Regions from separate parts of the Homo sapiens genome. Here region 2 is linked to region 1. The links are contacts of gene promoters, found by promoter capture Hi-C in human tissues and cell types (Jung and others, 2019). All regions are on one chromosome and are shown on one strand. Each heading gives the region's core, a stretch centred on a gene start or on the middle of the fragment in contact. The rest is flanking DNA. Distances are from core to core; before and after follow the strand shown.

What was found. The method cuts DNA at HindIII sites, captures the fragments that hold promoters and counts their contacts. A contact is called where the count stands out against the background at its distance.
Region 2: a fragment that was not itself captured here is called in contact with the fragment with the promoter of NPC2 in region 1 in 1 of the 25 tissues and cell types used here (hippocampus).

What each region holds. Positions count from the first base shown.
Region 1 is chr14:74,488,315-74,494,793 of GRCh38, forward strand. NPC2 (NPC intracellular cholesterol transporter 2) reads right to left here and starts at 4,991. Exons shown (of 5, transcript NM_006432.5): 1 at 4,879-4,991. The coding sequence starts at 4,960. It overlaps ISCA2 (iron-sulfur cluster assembly 2), which reads left to right and starts at 5,451. Exons shown (of 4, transcript NM_194279.4): 1 at 5,451-5,531; 2 at 5,736-5,838; 3 at 5,961-6,076. The coding sequence starts at 5,461. RefSeq lists enhancers at 1-675, 5,454-5,533 and silencers at 4,744-4,803, 4,974-5,253. The HindIII fragment of the contact is 6,262 bases long and covers 1,687-6,479 here.
Region 2 is chr14:74,117,079-74,124,196 of GRCh38, forward strand. All of the region lies in intron 5 of LIN52 (lin-52 DREAM MuvB core complex component), which reads left to right. All of the region lies in intron 1 of LOC105370563 (a long non-coding RNA gene), which reads right to left. Among named protein-coding and RNA genes, the nearest start is that of LIN52, 36 kb to the left of the region's middle. The HindIII fragment of the contact is 4,900 bases long and covers 2,635-7,118 here.

The sequences.
Region 1 (6,479 bases), core at 3,741-6,240:
TTCTTTCTTTCACCCCAACTTGACTTCCTAGAGAAATAAGCAGCACTATTAAAGGTATAGGTAAAACGATGAAAAGTGTCAGAATATCAGTCTTGGCTTTTAAAATTAGGCTGATTCAAGGGTGGGCATGGTGGCTCATGCCTATAATCCCAGCACTTTGGGAGGCCAAGGCAGGTGGATCAAGAGGTTAAGAGTTCGAGACCAGCCTGACCAACATGGTGAAACCTCGTCTCTAATAAAAATACAAAAATTAGCCAGGTATGGTGGTGCTCACCTGTAATCCCAGCTACTCAGGAGGCTGAGGCAGGAGAATCGCTTGAACTGGGGAGGCAGAGGTTGCAGTGAGCCGAGATTGCGCCACTGCACTCCAGCCTGGGTGACAGAGCAAGACTCTGTCTCAAAAAATAAAATAAAATAAAATAAGACTGATTCCAGAAGCCTACTCACTTCCGAGTAAGCAGACTATGGAATTTAAGAGGAACTACCACTTAACACTGAACAGAGGAGTGACCCTAAACAGAAAAACCACCTACCATCTCTGAACTAGGAATGACCCTTAAGAGAGGAACTACCTCCCACTTCTGAATTGGGAACTGCACCATTTTCACTGCACTTCTGCAGTTTCTTCAATGATTTAGTCCTGTTCTTTAAGGCCCACTTATGAGTCATGAAATATTTTGGCTCCAAAAACAACAGGAAGTACCTTAAATCTTGACTAAGGTTGTTAAGATCTGGATTTTTTCCAAGAATCAAGGGGATGAAGAGGAGTACAGAGGTTAAGGTCTTTATAGTTTCAGTACAAGCTTAGGGCACAAGTTAAGCTTAACTCCAAATAGCACTGACTCACACAGCCAAGATGGCAGAAGTGCCAGCTGCATTAAAGAAGAATACTGCTACCTGAGTCTGGGTTTCATTTCCTCTGAAATATTAACTTGGCCTAGGTCTATATAGCTGCTGGGAATGATACACTTGCAAATACTGCATATGTTAAAAACATAAGGATGAGACCTAAGAAGGTACTAGAAAGAGTCAGAAATAGGATTTATCCCTGGGAATCCTCAAAACAAATACATATTTTTCAAAATTAAAAAATTTAAGAAAAGAAATTGGATTCATCTGACTTGTCCAGGTTGTTTCTAAGTAGTTTCAAAAACTGATTTTAAGCACACATCTGCAATCTACAGATGTATACTCGATTTTGGGAACCTGCGTTCTTAAAATAAGTGTGTGTGTGTGTGTCTGTGTGTGTATGTATGTATTTTAATCTCAGTCTAACCAAGGACAAAAGTACTTGTATACAATAAATGCTTGACCAAAAAAGGTTTAAATAAAGCCTTTAAAAATCCCATTTCCTCCTGCCCCAGAGACTGGGCAGTTGAATGGGAGAGAATGCAGGTGAACTGCCTGATAACAGTGCCTGTAACAGGGTAAGTTAAGTTCTGCCATTCAGCCATCATTGCTGAGAGGCAGACTCTGGTGCCGGATGCCTGGGTTTGAAATCTCACTATCTCTGCTACTTACTGTATAGCCTCAAGGCAAGATACTTTACCTCTCTGGAGATAATGGTGTAGCTGAGCTAACACAAATACAGATCTTAGGTAAGTGTTTGGAACATAGTGATACATATATTTACTATTATTATCATATCTGGATTTAGTCCATGAGTTTAATCTAGAATAGCTGCTCCTGGGTAGGTTAGCAAGTTCCCTTCTGACACAAAAACTGGACCTCTCACCTCAAATATACTTTGTGGATAGAAATTATGTTTCTAGCCAATAGGATGGACTCTTTCTGTCTCAAAAGTGGAATGCATGAAGACAGAGGCAAACTGCAGGTTGAGAGTACATTATCTGCTATGCAGTCAGTCACCAGATTAGCTCAGTACTATAAAAGTATGATATGAACTCAGAAATCTAAGTAGATGTTCTTTGCTGCCTGTACCTACCCTTGGGTGGAACAGTCTCTTTAACTATCATCACACTGACCAACACTGCTCCAGCTAGGTCAGTAAATAGTACCTTGCAGTCCTTTATCCCTCAGCTTGCTTCTCCATCATTGCAAAGTTCTTAAACTGCACACACTCTTAAGCATCCAAAACAGTTTGAGAAACACTCTCTTCCACTCCAACCCATTTTTGGTGAATAGGGAAAAAAGAAATCCCGAACTTCAATCAACAATCTATTGAAAATCAGTGCTAATGTTAAGGCTTTCAATGTCCAGCTTCCACCTGCTTCTTTCAAGGCTGAGTCACATAATCTAGTAGGAAGTAAGTAAAGGGTAGTACTTATAGCTCTTTCATCCAGTTTTCTGATGACAAGAGGTTCTTAGACTTCCAGTGTCAATAGAACAAACTCCTCTGTTCTAACCAGCAAACATTACAAAATTAGTTTGCTTGGTCCACTTTCTCACTTGAGGAAATCCCACGCCAGGGAAGGTGGGTGTAGAGTGGAACACAAAAATCTTTGATGTGGGCACTGAAGTCTTTATATCATATTTCCCAATTCAAAAGTAAATTATAAATCTGTAACTGAAACCCTTCTTCCCTTTAAAAGCTTCTTCCCATAGGTGTACTCCTGCTTTTTCAAATAAGTAGAATAATTTCTGGATTTATTTCCCTTCTTTTTTTGGAAACCCAAAGTGGCTCACAAAGACCCACGGTTTCCTACCACTTACTGGGTGTGAGATCTTGGGCAAGTTACTCTATGTGCTTCGCTTTCCTCATCTGTAAGACAGCTTGTGAGGATGGAATGAGTTATTTTATTTTATTTTATTTTTTTGAGACGGAGTCTTGCTCTGTCGCCAGGCTGGAGTGCAGTGGCGTGATCTTGGCTCACTGTAACCTCCACCTCCCGGGTTCAAGCGATTCTCCTGCCTCAGCCTCCCGAGTAGCTGGGACTACAGGTGCACACTACCATGCCCAGCTAATTTTTGTATTTTTAGTAGAGATGGGGTTTCACCATGTTGGCCAGGATGGTCTCAATCTCTTGACCTCGTGATCTGCCCGTCTTGGCCTCCCAAAGTGCTGGGATTACAGGTGTGAGCCACTGTGCCTGGCCGGAATGAGTTATTAAAATTAATAGTGTCTTCATCCAAACGCTGGCTACTAAGTTTAATGGAGGGAAAGGCAGTAATTTGAAGCGATAATAGCTTTCAAGTGCCAGTCTCCTAAATCAATGGAATAGCATTTAAGTGTTAATCGGCCAGCACTCCATTCCTTAATCAATCCTGTCCCCTAATCCCCAACTTTGCTTTTGTCTCAACATGAATTTTTATGACATAGGGGAAAAAGATTTCCATCTATGTTTTCAACACATTTCATTGAGCAGTTACTATTACCTGGGCACTGGATATAAAGCAGCAAACTTATGAAACCGCCTTTGCAAAAATCCTGAGGAAATTAAGACAGTGAAAGAGATCAGGACTCACCTACCCATCTTCCTTCTAACCTCTAAACTGTCTTTGTTCATTCCTGGGTGTAGGCTGAACTAGTCTTGGAGAGGAATTTATAGTTTAAACTCTGAAACGAAATGGATAATAGCCCTTTCCTGAAAAACCCCTTCTTGCCTGGGGACCGGTCTGCCTTTGTAGGACTAACAAATTAGCTACGAGTTTAGGGGCCACGCCGCCTCTGGCTGTAAGAGTCTGAACCTCCCCAAATTGCTCCTGGTAATGATATCACTATTGTAAAACCTAAGGTCAGTGCTTGAGATATTTTGCAGATCCTGCATTCCGATGCAGCAAATGACACCACCCAGAGGTCAGCAAGAAGAACTCACTTCGACTCTCCTATGATTTTATCTTCAACCTGACCAATCAGCACTCCCCACTTTCCAAGCCCATACCCGCCAAATTATCCTTAAAAACTCTGATCCCCGAATGCTCGGGGAGACTGATCTGAGTAACAATAAAACTCCGGCCTCCCCCACAGCCGGCTCTGCGTGAATTACTCTTTTCGCCACTGCAAATCCCATCTTGATAAATCCGCTCTGTCTAGGCAATGCGCAAGGTGAACCCCTTGGGCGGTTACACTTACTCTGGCTCCCCATTCTGCTGCGTGACTTTAGGTAGGCTACCCAACATCCCTGGAATTCAATGATTGATTATACGATCTCCGTGCTTCCTTTCCACTCATAGATCTTACAAAGTCAGTTTCATGCCTCTTTCATTGACAGTTCTATCTCTCTATCTCCACCTCTGAACAACATTGCTCGAGTTTCTGTTCCGACAATTCTATAGACTCGACTCAATGAAGGCACTCAGAATTTCTACCACCTGTTGTATTTTCCAACAAAGATTCCAACCACAGCGGCGAGAGGGAGTTATGTATCACAAGCTGTGATTAGAGACACAATGAGATTTATACAAGGAAAAACTGATTAAGAATCACAAGATTCCAAAGCCCAAAGGAAGTCCTATTTGTAACAATAAATGATGAAAAAGGGGAATTGACTTTTGACTTGTCAGCAAAAACGAAATTAAAAGAAAAGCAAAAGGAGTTGGAAGGGGGAGGCGGGATTCCAAGATACAAAGCATAAATAAAAAGAAGTTCTGTGCTCCACCCCTCCACCAGAGCTGGATACAGCCCTTCTGTTGTCCGCCCTACAAACTTTAGGAAACTTCAGCAAAAGGCCCACCTCCTGGAGTTCCCAGGAACCCCAAAACACGCGTTCTAAGGAAAGAAACAAAGTTGTGCGCGGTCGGGTTTCATGGAGGCCGGCGCCTTCTCCCCCGACCCAGCCCATTCCAGTTAGGTAGGGTCCAAGGCTCAGCCTGGCCGCCCGAGGGATCCGCCCAGCCCAGCCCCAGGGGTCTCAGCGCGGGGGTCCGGCGGGGCCTTCCACAGAGGGCGCGGGAACCTTGGGCGGGCCTGGGGCTCACCGCAGTCCTTGAACTGCACCGGTTCGGCCTGGGCAGCGGTGCTGAGCGCCAGGAGCAGGAATGTAGCTGCCAGGAAACGCATCGCGGATAACGAAGTTCCAAGCTCGGGAAAGAAGCAGCGGCCGCCCGCGGTCACAAGACAAACCTGTCGGGGCGGGCCCGGGGAGGAGCCCAGTCAGGCGACCTGTCACCAGTAACCACAGCTGAGGCCCGCCCGCGCCCCGCCCCCGGCTCCGGAAAGCCAGCTCCAGCCCTCTCAGGCCCAGAAGCCTGCAGTCTCCGCCCATGCCATCCCCTCAGAGGCCTGACCCGCCCGGACCCACCTCCGCCCCGCCCCGCCTCACTCCTCCCCGCCCCGTTCCTTCCCTTTAGAGCACCTCTCCGGCTTCCTGGGTGCGTCCCCGCCGCTGCCGTCTGGAGCATTCCTAGCCAATCAGACACCTTCTCCTCCCGCACTACCCAATAGGCATGTTGGGGGGGCGGGGCCTCCGTGAAGTCCCGGCCTCCTGTTCGTTCTCTCCGCCTCCCGAGGCCCCGGGTGAGAAACGGGGGAGACGCGAGGGGCGGAGCTTGTGGAGGAAGATGGCTGCCGCCTGGGGGTCGTCCCTAACGGCCGCGACGCAGAGAGCGGTCACTCCCTGGCCGAGGGGCAGGTACCAAGACTAGAAAGGCACCTGGAAAGGGTGTTTGGTTCTGCGCCTCTAGGACAAATGGGAAACTAAGGCCTGTGGGGGATGCGAGGGTTTGGTGGGAGGCCGTCCAGGTGGGGGTCGCCAGGTTTAGCGTGAGGCGCTCCAGGTCGAGGGTTGCAAGGTGCCCCTTCTGCTCCCGGGCTCACCCTCCTCCCTTGCGCGCAGGCTCCTCACGGCCTCCCTGGGACCCCAGGCGCGTCGGGAGGCGTCGTCCTCCAGCCCCGAGGCCGGCGAAGGGCAGATCCGCCTCACAGACAGTTGCGTCCAGGTAGGAGGCCGGACGCGGAGCGGCGGTACCCAGGCGATTGGCGGGAGCAGCGGGAACTGCTCTTCACTCAGCCCTTTAACTCCCGTTTCCCGCTATTCTTGATCCCCCTTCCTGCATTTCAGAGGCTTTTGGAAATCACCGAAGGGTCAGAATTCCTCAGGCTGCAAGTGGAGGGAGGTGGATGCTCCGGATTCCAATACAAATTTTCACTGGATACAGTTATCAACCCCGACGACAGGCAAGGAGGAAGGGGTGGGCCCCCAAAGGAGGTACAGGAGGGACAAAAGTGTCTCCAGTTTAAGGTGCACTTTTATTCCAAATTTAAAGGGTTTACCTGGGATGGTTAACACCGCCCGTCTCACAGTGAGGATGCAGTAAAGGTTTGTTGTTCTGAATCAAAGTAACTAAGTTATAGGAGCAAAATTGATCTGCCCAGGTCCATTGGGTAGTCGGTAGAAAGTCAGGCCGGACTAGATTCCAGGCTTAAGTCCCTACACGTTTCCCAGTATTTATTCCATTGAATCATTTTGCCTCAAAGAAAATCAGCACCTGTTAAAGGTAATGGGGAAGCTCCCTCTGTACTTTAGAAAACAGAGGATGTGCACCTCTGGGCTCAGGGGGTGTCTTTTTTGTGTTTGCGA
Region 2 (7,118 bases), core at 3,835-6,334, 370 kb before region 1:
GCTCTTCTGTGGACTGTTTCTAAATAAAAATGAGTAGATCCATTAACAATTGATCAGTTTATACAAGTGATAAATAGCAAGGTGAATGTTTCCCATACATATCTCATTTCCCATACTCAGGATGTGCTTGCATAAGTAGGAATTGAGAGCAAAAGAAATGGTAGGCTGTTGGGTCATGGGCAAGAGACGATTTAGTTGGCCAAAGAAGCATATTTTCTTAAGCAAATGTTGGCCAAGATGTTACTTTATGTTTTCGGGCTGTCTTCACTGTAGTTGGAGAACTGTGAACTCTTGGTATTAAGTACTCAGTAGGAGCAAAGAACCATTTGGAATGTCTGTCAATCTTAAATAGAACTGCAGCTGTTTGGCTGAGAGGTGAAATGGACCTGGATTTCTTTTTTTTGGCGGGGGGGCTTTGAAAGTAGTTTTTGTATAACAAAGAGGTGATGAGAACTAAAGTGATTACAAAAGTGTTCATAGGAGTTCAGTTTCTTTCCAGGCTTTGGGTTTAAGAATGACTGTTTCTGCCCATGGGGAAATAAATTGGCATTTTTCTGCTTTCGTTTGTTTTTTAGTTATTGATGTTCTAGAAATTTCAACAAAATAAGGAGTGTTTTTGTATTTCAAATGTAGTGCCCGTTTCTTTATTTCTTTCTGGTACTTTCCACTGGTTTGTGTTGATAATATGATCTGGAAGGTAGCGATAATGCATGGGAATTTATAAATGATCACAAAATACTTTGTCACAGGAAATCTGGAGAAATAATGACTTTGGCATATGTATAAGAGAAGTATCTCTAACTGTTAAGTCTAAACTAAAAGCTTGTTACTTTTCGGTTTGGTATAACCAAAAAAAATTTGAAAAATAAAATAGAAGTAATGATTTGTTTTCTCAGGTGTAGTTGTATTTGACTGACTCTATTGTAGGAGGACACGTTTAAGACTGAATGGTTGGATAACGGTAAAGACGTCCTTTCAATGGAGAGTTGAATCTGATAGGTTGAAGTTTTGGATATTGAATGAAAAGAGAAAAGAGAGCCGGACAAGCTGAAAATTCCTGTAGTTCCAACTACTGGGGAGGCTGAGGTGGGAGGATCACCTGAGCCCAGGAGTTTGAGACTGCAGTGAGCTATGATCATGCCACTGCGTTCCAGTCTGGATGACAGAGTGAGACCCTGTGTCAAAAAATAAGTAAATAAAAAGAGGAAAGAGCTAAAATGAGAATTCAATCTGATTCAGAATATAAAAATATTCTACTGTCCCATCATTTTTTGTTCTTTAATAAGCTTTAACATTGAAGTATAATGTATATAAAGAAAAGCACACAAATTATAATGTACAACTCAATGATTTTCATAAAATTAACACTCCCCTGTAACCGTTGGTCAAAACAGATCAAGATACAGAACGTTGCGCCTGGTGCTGTGGCTCATGCCTGTGATCCCAGCACTTTGGGAGGCTGAGGCTGGCAGATCACTTGAGCTCAGGAATTCCAGACCAGCCTGGGCAACATGATAAAATCCAGTGTCTACAAAAAATACAAAAATTAGCCGGGCCTGCTGGTGTACACCTGTAGTCCCAGCTACTTGGGAGGCTGAGGTGGGAGGATCACCTGAACCTGGGAAGTCAAGGCTGGAGTGAACCAAGATCACACCATTGTACTCCAGCCTGGGTGACAGGAGTGAGACCCTATCTCAAAACAAAACACCTTTCTAGTACATAAATACAAAATCTCCTTTGTGCCCCTTCTAGTCCCTACTTGCCCCTTCCTCTCAAAGCATTACTGTGACTTATACTATCATAGAATAATTTTGTTTATCTTTGAACTTTATGTAAATGGAATAACAAATCACATACTCTTTTGTGTCTGACTTTTGATCAGCGTTTAAATTATGACATCGGCCATATCATTTGGGTTTTCTCCCATTGCTATATAGTATTTCATTGTAAGAAGTTACCACAATTTATTTCCTCGTTCTACTAATGATGGATATTTGGACTATTTCCAGCTTTTGGTTATTACAAATAAATACTGTTAGTATTTTTGATATATATCTTTTTTTGGTACATGGATTTTCTTTCTTTTTTTTTTTTTTTTTTTGAGACAGAGTCTTGCTCTGTTGCCCAGGCTGGAGTGCAGTGGCACCATCTTGGCTCACTGCAAGCTCCGCCTCCTGGGTTCATGCCATTCTCCTGCCTCAGCCTCCCGAATAGCTAGGACTACAGGCGCCCCCCCACCACGCCCAGCTAATTTTTTTTGTATTTTTAGTAGAGACAGGGTTTCACTGTGTTAGCTAGGATGGTCTCGATCTCCTGACCTCGTGATCCGCCCGCCTTGGCCTCCCAAAATGCTGGGATTACAGGCATGAGCCGCCGCACCTGGGCCGTACATGCATTTTCATTGGATATATAACTAGGAAGTGGAATTGCTAGATCATAGGGGTATATGTATATTTAGCTTTAGTAGGTACTTCCAAATATTAATAGTTTTCCAAAGTGGTTATATCAATTTACAAACCTATCAGCAATTTCAGTTGCTCCAAGTCCTTACCAACAGGTGTATTCTCAGTCTTTTAACTTCTAGTCGTTCTAATAAATGGTATCTTAATGTGGTTTTAATTTGCATTTCCTTAATGACTAATGAGGTTGAGCACCTTTTTGTATGTTTATTGGCCATTTGGATAACATCTTTTGTGAAGTCCTTATTAGTGTCTCTTGCCCATTGCCCATCTTTAAAAACTGGATTACTGGATTATTCTTTTTTTTTTTTTTTTTAGATGGAGTTTCACTCTTGTCGCCCAGGCTGGAGTGCAATGGCACGATCTCAGCTCACTGCAATGTCTACCTCCTGGGTTCAAGCGATTCTCCTGCCTCAGCCTCCCAAGTAGCTGGAATTACAGGTGCACGCTACCACGTGTGCCTAATTTTTGTATTTTTAGTAAAGATGGAGTTTCACCATGTTGGCCAGGCTGGTCTCAAACTCATGACCTCGGGTGATCCGCCTGCCTCGGCCTCCCAAAGTGCTGGGATTACAGACATGAGCCACTGAGCCTGGCTTGGATTATCAGTCTTTAAAAAAATGATTTGTAAGTACTGTTTATATATTCTGGATATCCACCCTTTGTCAGTCACATAAATTGCAAATATTCCACTTTGTAGCTTCCCTTTTAATTTTCTTAATGGTATGTTTTAATGAACCAAAGAGTTTTTTCCCCCAACTTTTTATTTGTTGAAATTTGAAATCTTTAAAAAAGTTTTGGCCAGGCGCAGTGGCTCATACCTGTAATCCCAGCACTTCGGGAGGCCAAGGCCGGTGGATCACCTAAGGTCAAGAGTTCGAGACCAGCCTGACCAATATGGTGAAACACTGTCTCTACTAAAAATACAAAAAGTAGGCCAGGCGTGGTAGCTCACACCTGTAATCCCAGCACTTTGGGAGGCCGAGGTGGGCAGATCACCTGAGGTCAGGAGTTCGAGACCATCCTGGCCAGCATTGTGAAACCCCGTCTCTACTAAAAATACAAAAATTAGCCGGGCTTGGTGGTGGGTGCCTGTAATCCCAGCTACTCGGGAGGTTGAGGCAGGAGAATCGCTTGAACCTGGGAGGCGGAGGTTTCAGTGAGCCGAGATCGTGCCATTGCACTCCAGCCTGGGCAACAGAGTGAGACTCCCTCTCAAAAAAAAAAAAAAAAAATTAGCTGGGCTTGGTGGCGTGCGCCTGTAGTCCCAGCTACTCAGGAGGCTGAGACAGGAGAATCACTTGAACCCAGGAGGAGGAGGTTGCAGTGAGCCACTGCATTCCAGCCTGGGCAACAGAGCGAGACTCTGTCTCAAGAAAAAAAAAAGTTTCAAGCCAGGCTCAGTGGTATGCACCTGTAGTTTCAGCTACTCTGGATGCTGAGGTGGGAGGATCATTTGAGCCCAGAAGTTTGAGTCCAGCCTAGGTAACACAGGGAGACTCTGTCTCAAAGAAAGAAAAAAAGCTTAAAACTATTCCAAAAAAAACCATGTAGTAGGCACAAGTATTTCTAAAAATAAACTATACACAGTAGATTTTCCCCTTGGAGTCAAGTTGTAAATTCTATCAGCAGAGCATTGACCTAAATCATTATAACCCAACAGAAATCAGTGGCTCCCATATAATTCCCAGAGGTTTCCCTGTCCCCACCCAAACAACTTTTCTCTATTCAGCAATTCTCCATTGCTTAGATCTGCTGTTTCCATTCTATATTATTGATTTACTCTATATTTCTTATACCACTAGCCATAATGATTTTCATGCATGTAACAAACAGATTTCATCTATTGATTTCATAAGTAAGTGATGCAAGTTTTAATGACTAATGTGAGACTAACATTTTCCTTATTCGTTCCTTTCCAATTCTAAGATACTTTAATGCATCAACTGAATAGTGAAGTCATTATTGCAAATGCTTTTATCACATAGTGCCGAAGTTAGTTAGCAAATAGTTAAAGAAAATAGTTAAAGATGCTTTGGTTTTTCCAGGAAAGTGGTTTTCCAAAAATTTTCAAATAATGATGGTAATACATTAAAAAATATATCACTCAACAAGTTTGTCAGAAAACTTACACATCAAATCAAGAAAACAGTGAGTTAAGGAAAGAGGAAAACACACCTTCACTTTCTTTTTTTTTTTTTTTTAAGACGGAGTCTCACTCCGTCACCCAGGCTGGGGTGCAGTGGCGCCATCTCAACTCACTGGAACCTCTGCCTCCCGGGTTCAAGTGATTATCCTGCCTCAGCCTCCCGAATAGCTGGGATTACAGGCGCGCACACCACGCGTGGCTAATTTTTGGATTTTTAGTGGAGACGGGGTTTCACCATGTTGGACAGGCTGGTCTCAAACACACCTTCACTTTCTCCACTGGAATTTTTGTTTATCATGTAACCAGTAACAATATTCTCATATTCCCATGAGAAGAGGTTGAGGAAGAAAAGAATTCACACTAGTAATGTAGTATTTTATTTCTGAGATGCTACAGCTTTGACATTATTATAACCCAAATTAAAAGAACAGGAGTGTCATTAACCAAAAAGGAGAATATTGCTAAACGGAACTGTAGTAAAATTTAAAACTTATGTTCAAATTGGAGATATTTTATTATGGATTGAAAATCAGATAATTGTATTGTGTTAAATTTTTTGAGTTTGTTAATTATATTGTAGCTATGTAGGAGAATATCCTTGTTCTTAGGAGACAATGCTGAAGTATTTAGGGATGAACTATCATGGTGTCTGCAGCTAGCTCTCAGATAGCTCAGGAATAAAACAACAAAATTTAAAAATATAAATAGATGAAGCAAGTGTGTAATGTTAACAGTTGGTGAGCAGGTGAAGAGTATATGATTATTCATTGTAGTATTCTTTGTTTCTATTTTATTTAAAATATGTTAGGATATTTTAGGCTCTAGAAAATTTCACTGGACACTTGTGAGAGTATGAGTGAAAAGAGCATCTTAGTATTATACAAATAATTTTTACCTGTCCGGGTGCAGTGGCTCACACCTGTAATCCCAGTACTTTGGGAGGCCAAGATGGGCAGATCACTTGAGGTCAGGAGTTTGAGATCAGCCTGACCAACATGGTGAAACCCTGTCTCTACTAAAAATATAAAAATTAGCTGGGTATGGTGGCAGGCACCTGTAATCCCAAATACTTGGGAGGCTGAGGCAGGAGAATTGCTTGAACCTGGGAGGCAGAGGTTGCAGTGAGCCAAGATCATGTGCTACGGCACTCCAGCCTGGGTGACAGAGTGAGACTCTGTCTCAAAAAAACAAAACAAACAAACAAAAACAAAAACAAAAACCAGTTTTGACCTAGTGGACCCCCAAAAGAAGTATGGCGAGCCCAGGATCTGCAGGTGTTCCCTGACCACACTTTGAGATTTGTTGCCTTAGAGTATTATTTTGATGATTTGATACAGCCTTATTTATAAAACTCTTAGCTCACTGTCTGGATCTTAATAAGTTCTTAAAAACTATTAACTGTTGTTACTCTTATGAGCAGCATATGAGAAATTTTAAGCATGGTAGACATCTGATCATATTTACATTCTTAGGTCACTTTGCTAACATGGTAGAAGGTAGATTGGTGAGGAATGAAAATAGCAACAGGGAGATGAGTTAGATTACTTTAGTAAACTAGACTACAATGGTAAGCCCTTGAACTAAGACAGTAGAAATATTACTGGAGCATAAAGGATGGGTTCTATAAATCCTAGTAGGAGAATGGAAAGTTTTAGTGACTGATTGGATATATTGGGATTGGGAAGTCCTGGGCAGTAAGAATGAGGAACCAAGAACAATTCTTAGGTTTCTAGCTTAGGTGTATATAGGAAGAAGAAGACCTTTGAGAAGAAAGATTTGGGAGTTCATTTATAAGTGTATCTGTAGGCTATCTAGGTGGAAATAAATACCTAGGAGACAATTGAATAGATACTAGAGCACAGGGAATTTGGATCCTTGATCCATAGGTTTTATTTAAAGCCATAGATGAGAGAAGCCAGGAGGATGTGTAGCATTAAATATAGAACCGTGGTGTGGTAGGCACCCTCTAAGACGGTCCCCAGTGATCCCTGCTACTAGTGTGCCCTTGTTTAATCATCTCTTGAGGGTGGGCTGGACCTAATGATAGTAAAAGTGATGGAATCCCACTTCTGAGATTAAGTTACCAAAAGACCATGGCTTCTGTTCTCCCCTTCATCCCCCAGAGAAGCACATTGCCATGTGAGTATAAAGAAAACTAGCCTGGGATTTCAGAGATCCTGGTTATTGGAAGTAGATCTGTTCTACTTACTGACTTGATAAATAACCTCTCTCTGAGTTTCATTTTCCTTTTCTGTGAAATTAAGGTAATAATAATGCCTCTTAATGAGCTGTTGAGAGAGTTAAATTGGATGATGATTATAAAATGCTTAGTATGAGTCTTCATGATCTTGGATTTGGCCATGGATTTTTATTTATTTATTTTTTTTACAAGATGATCATGGACTTTATTCATTTCCAAATTGTAATGTTCAGATATGTTACTGGAATCAAAAAAGAATTGAGCTAGGTTCCTGGAAACAAAATAAATAGACTAACCAAATTCTATATCC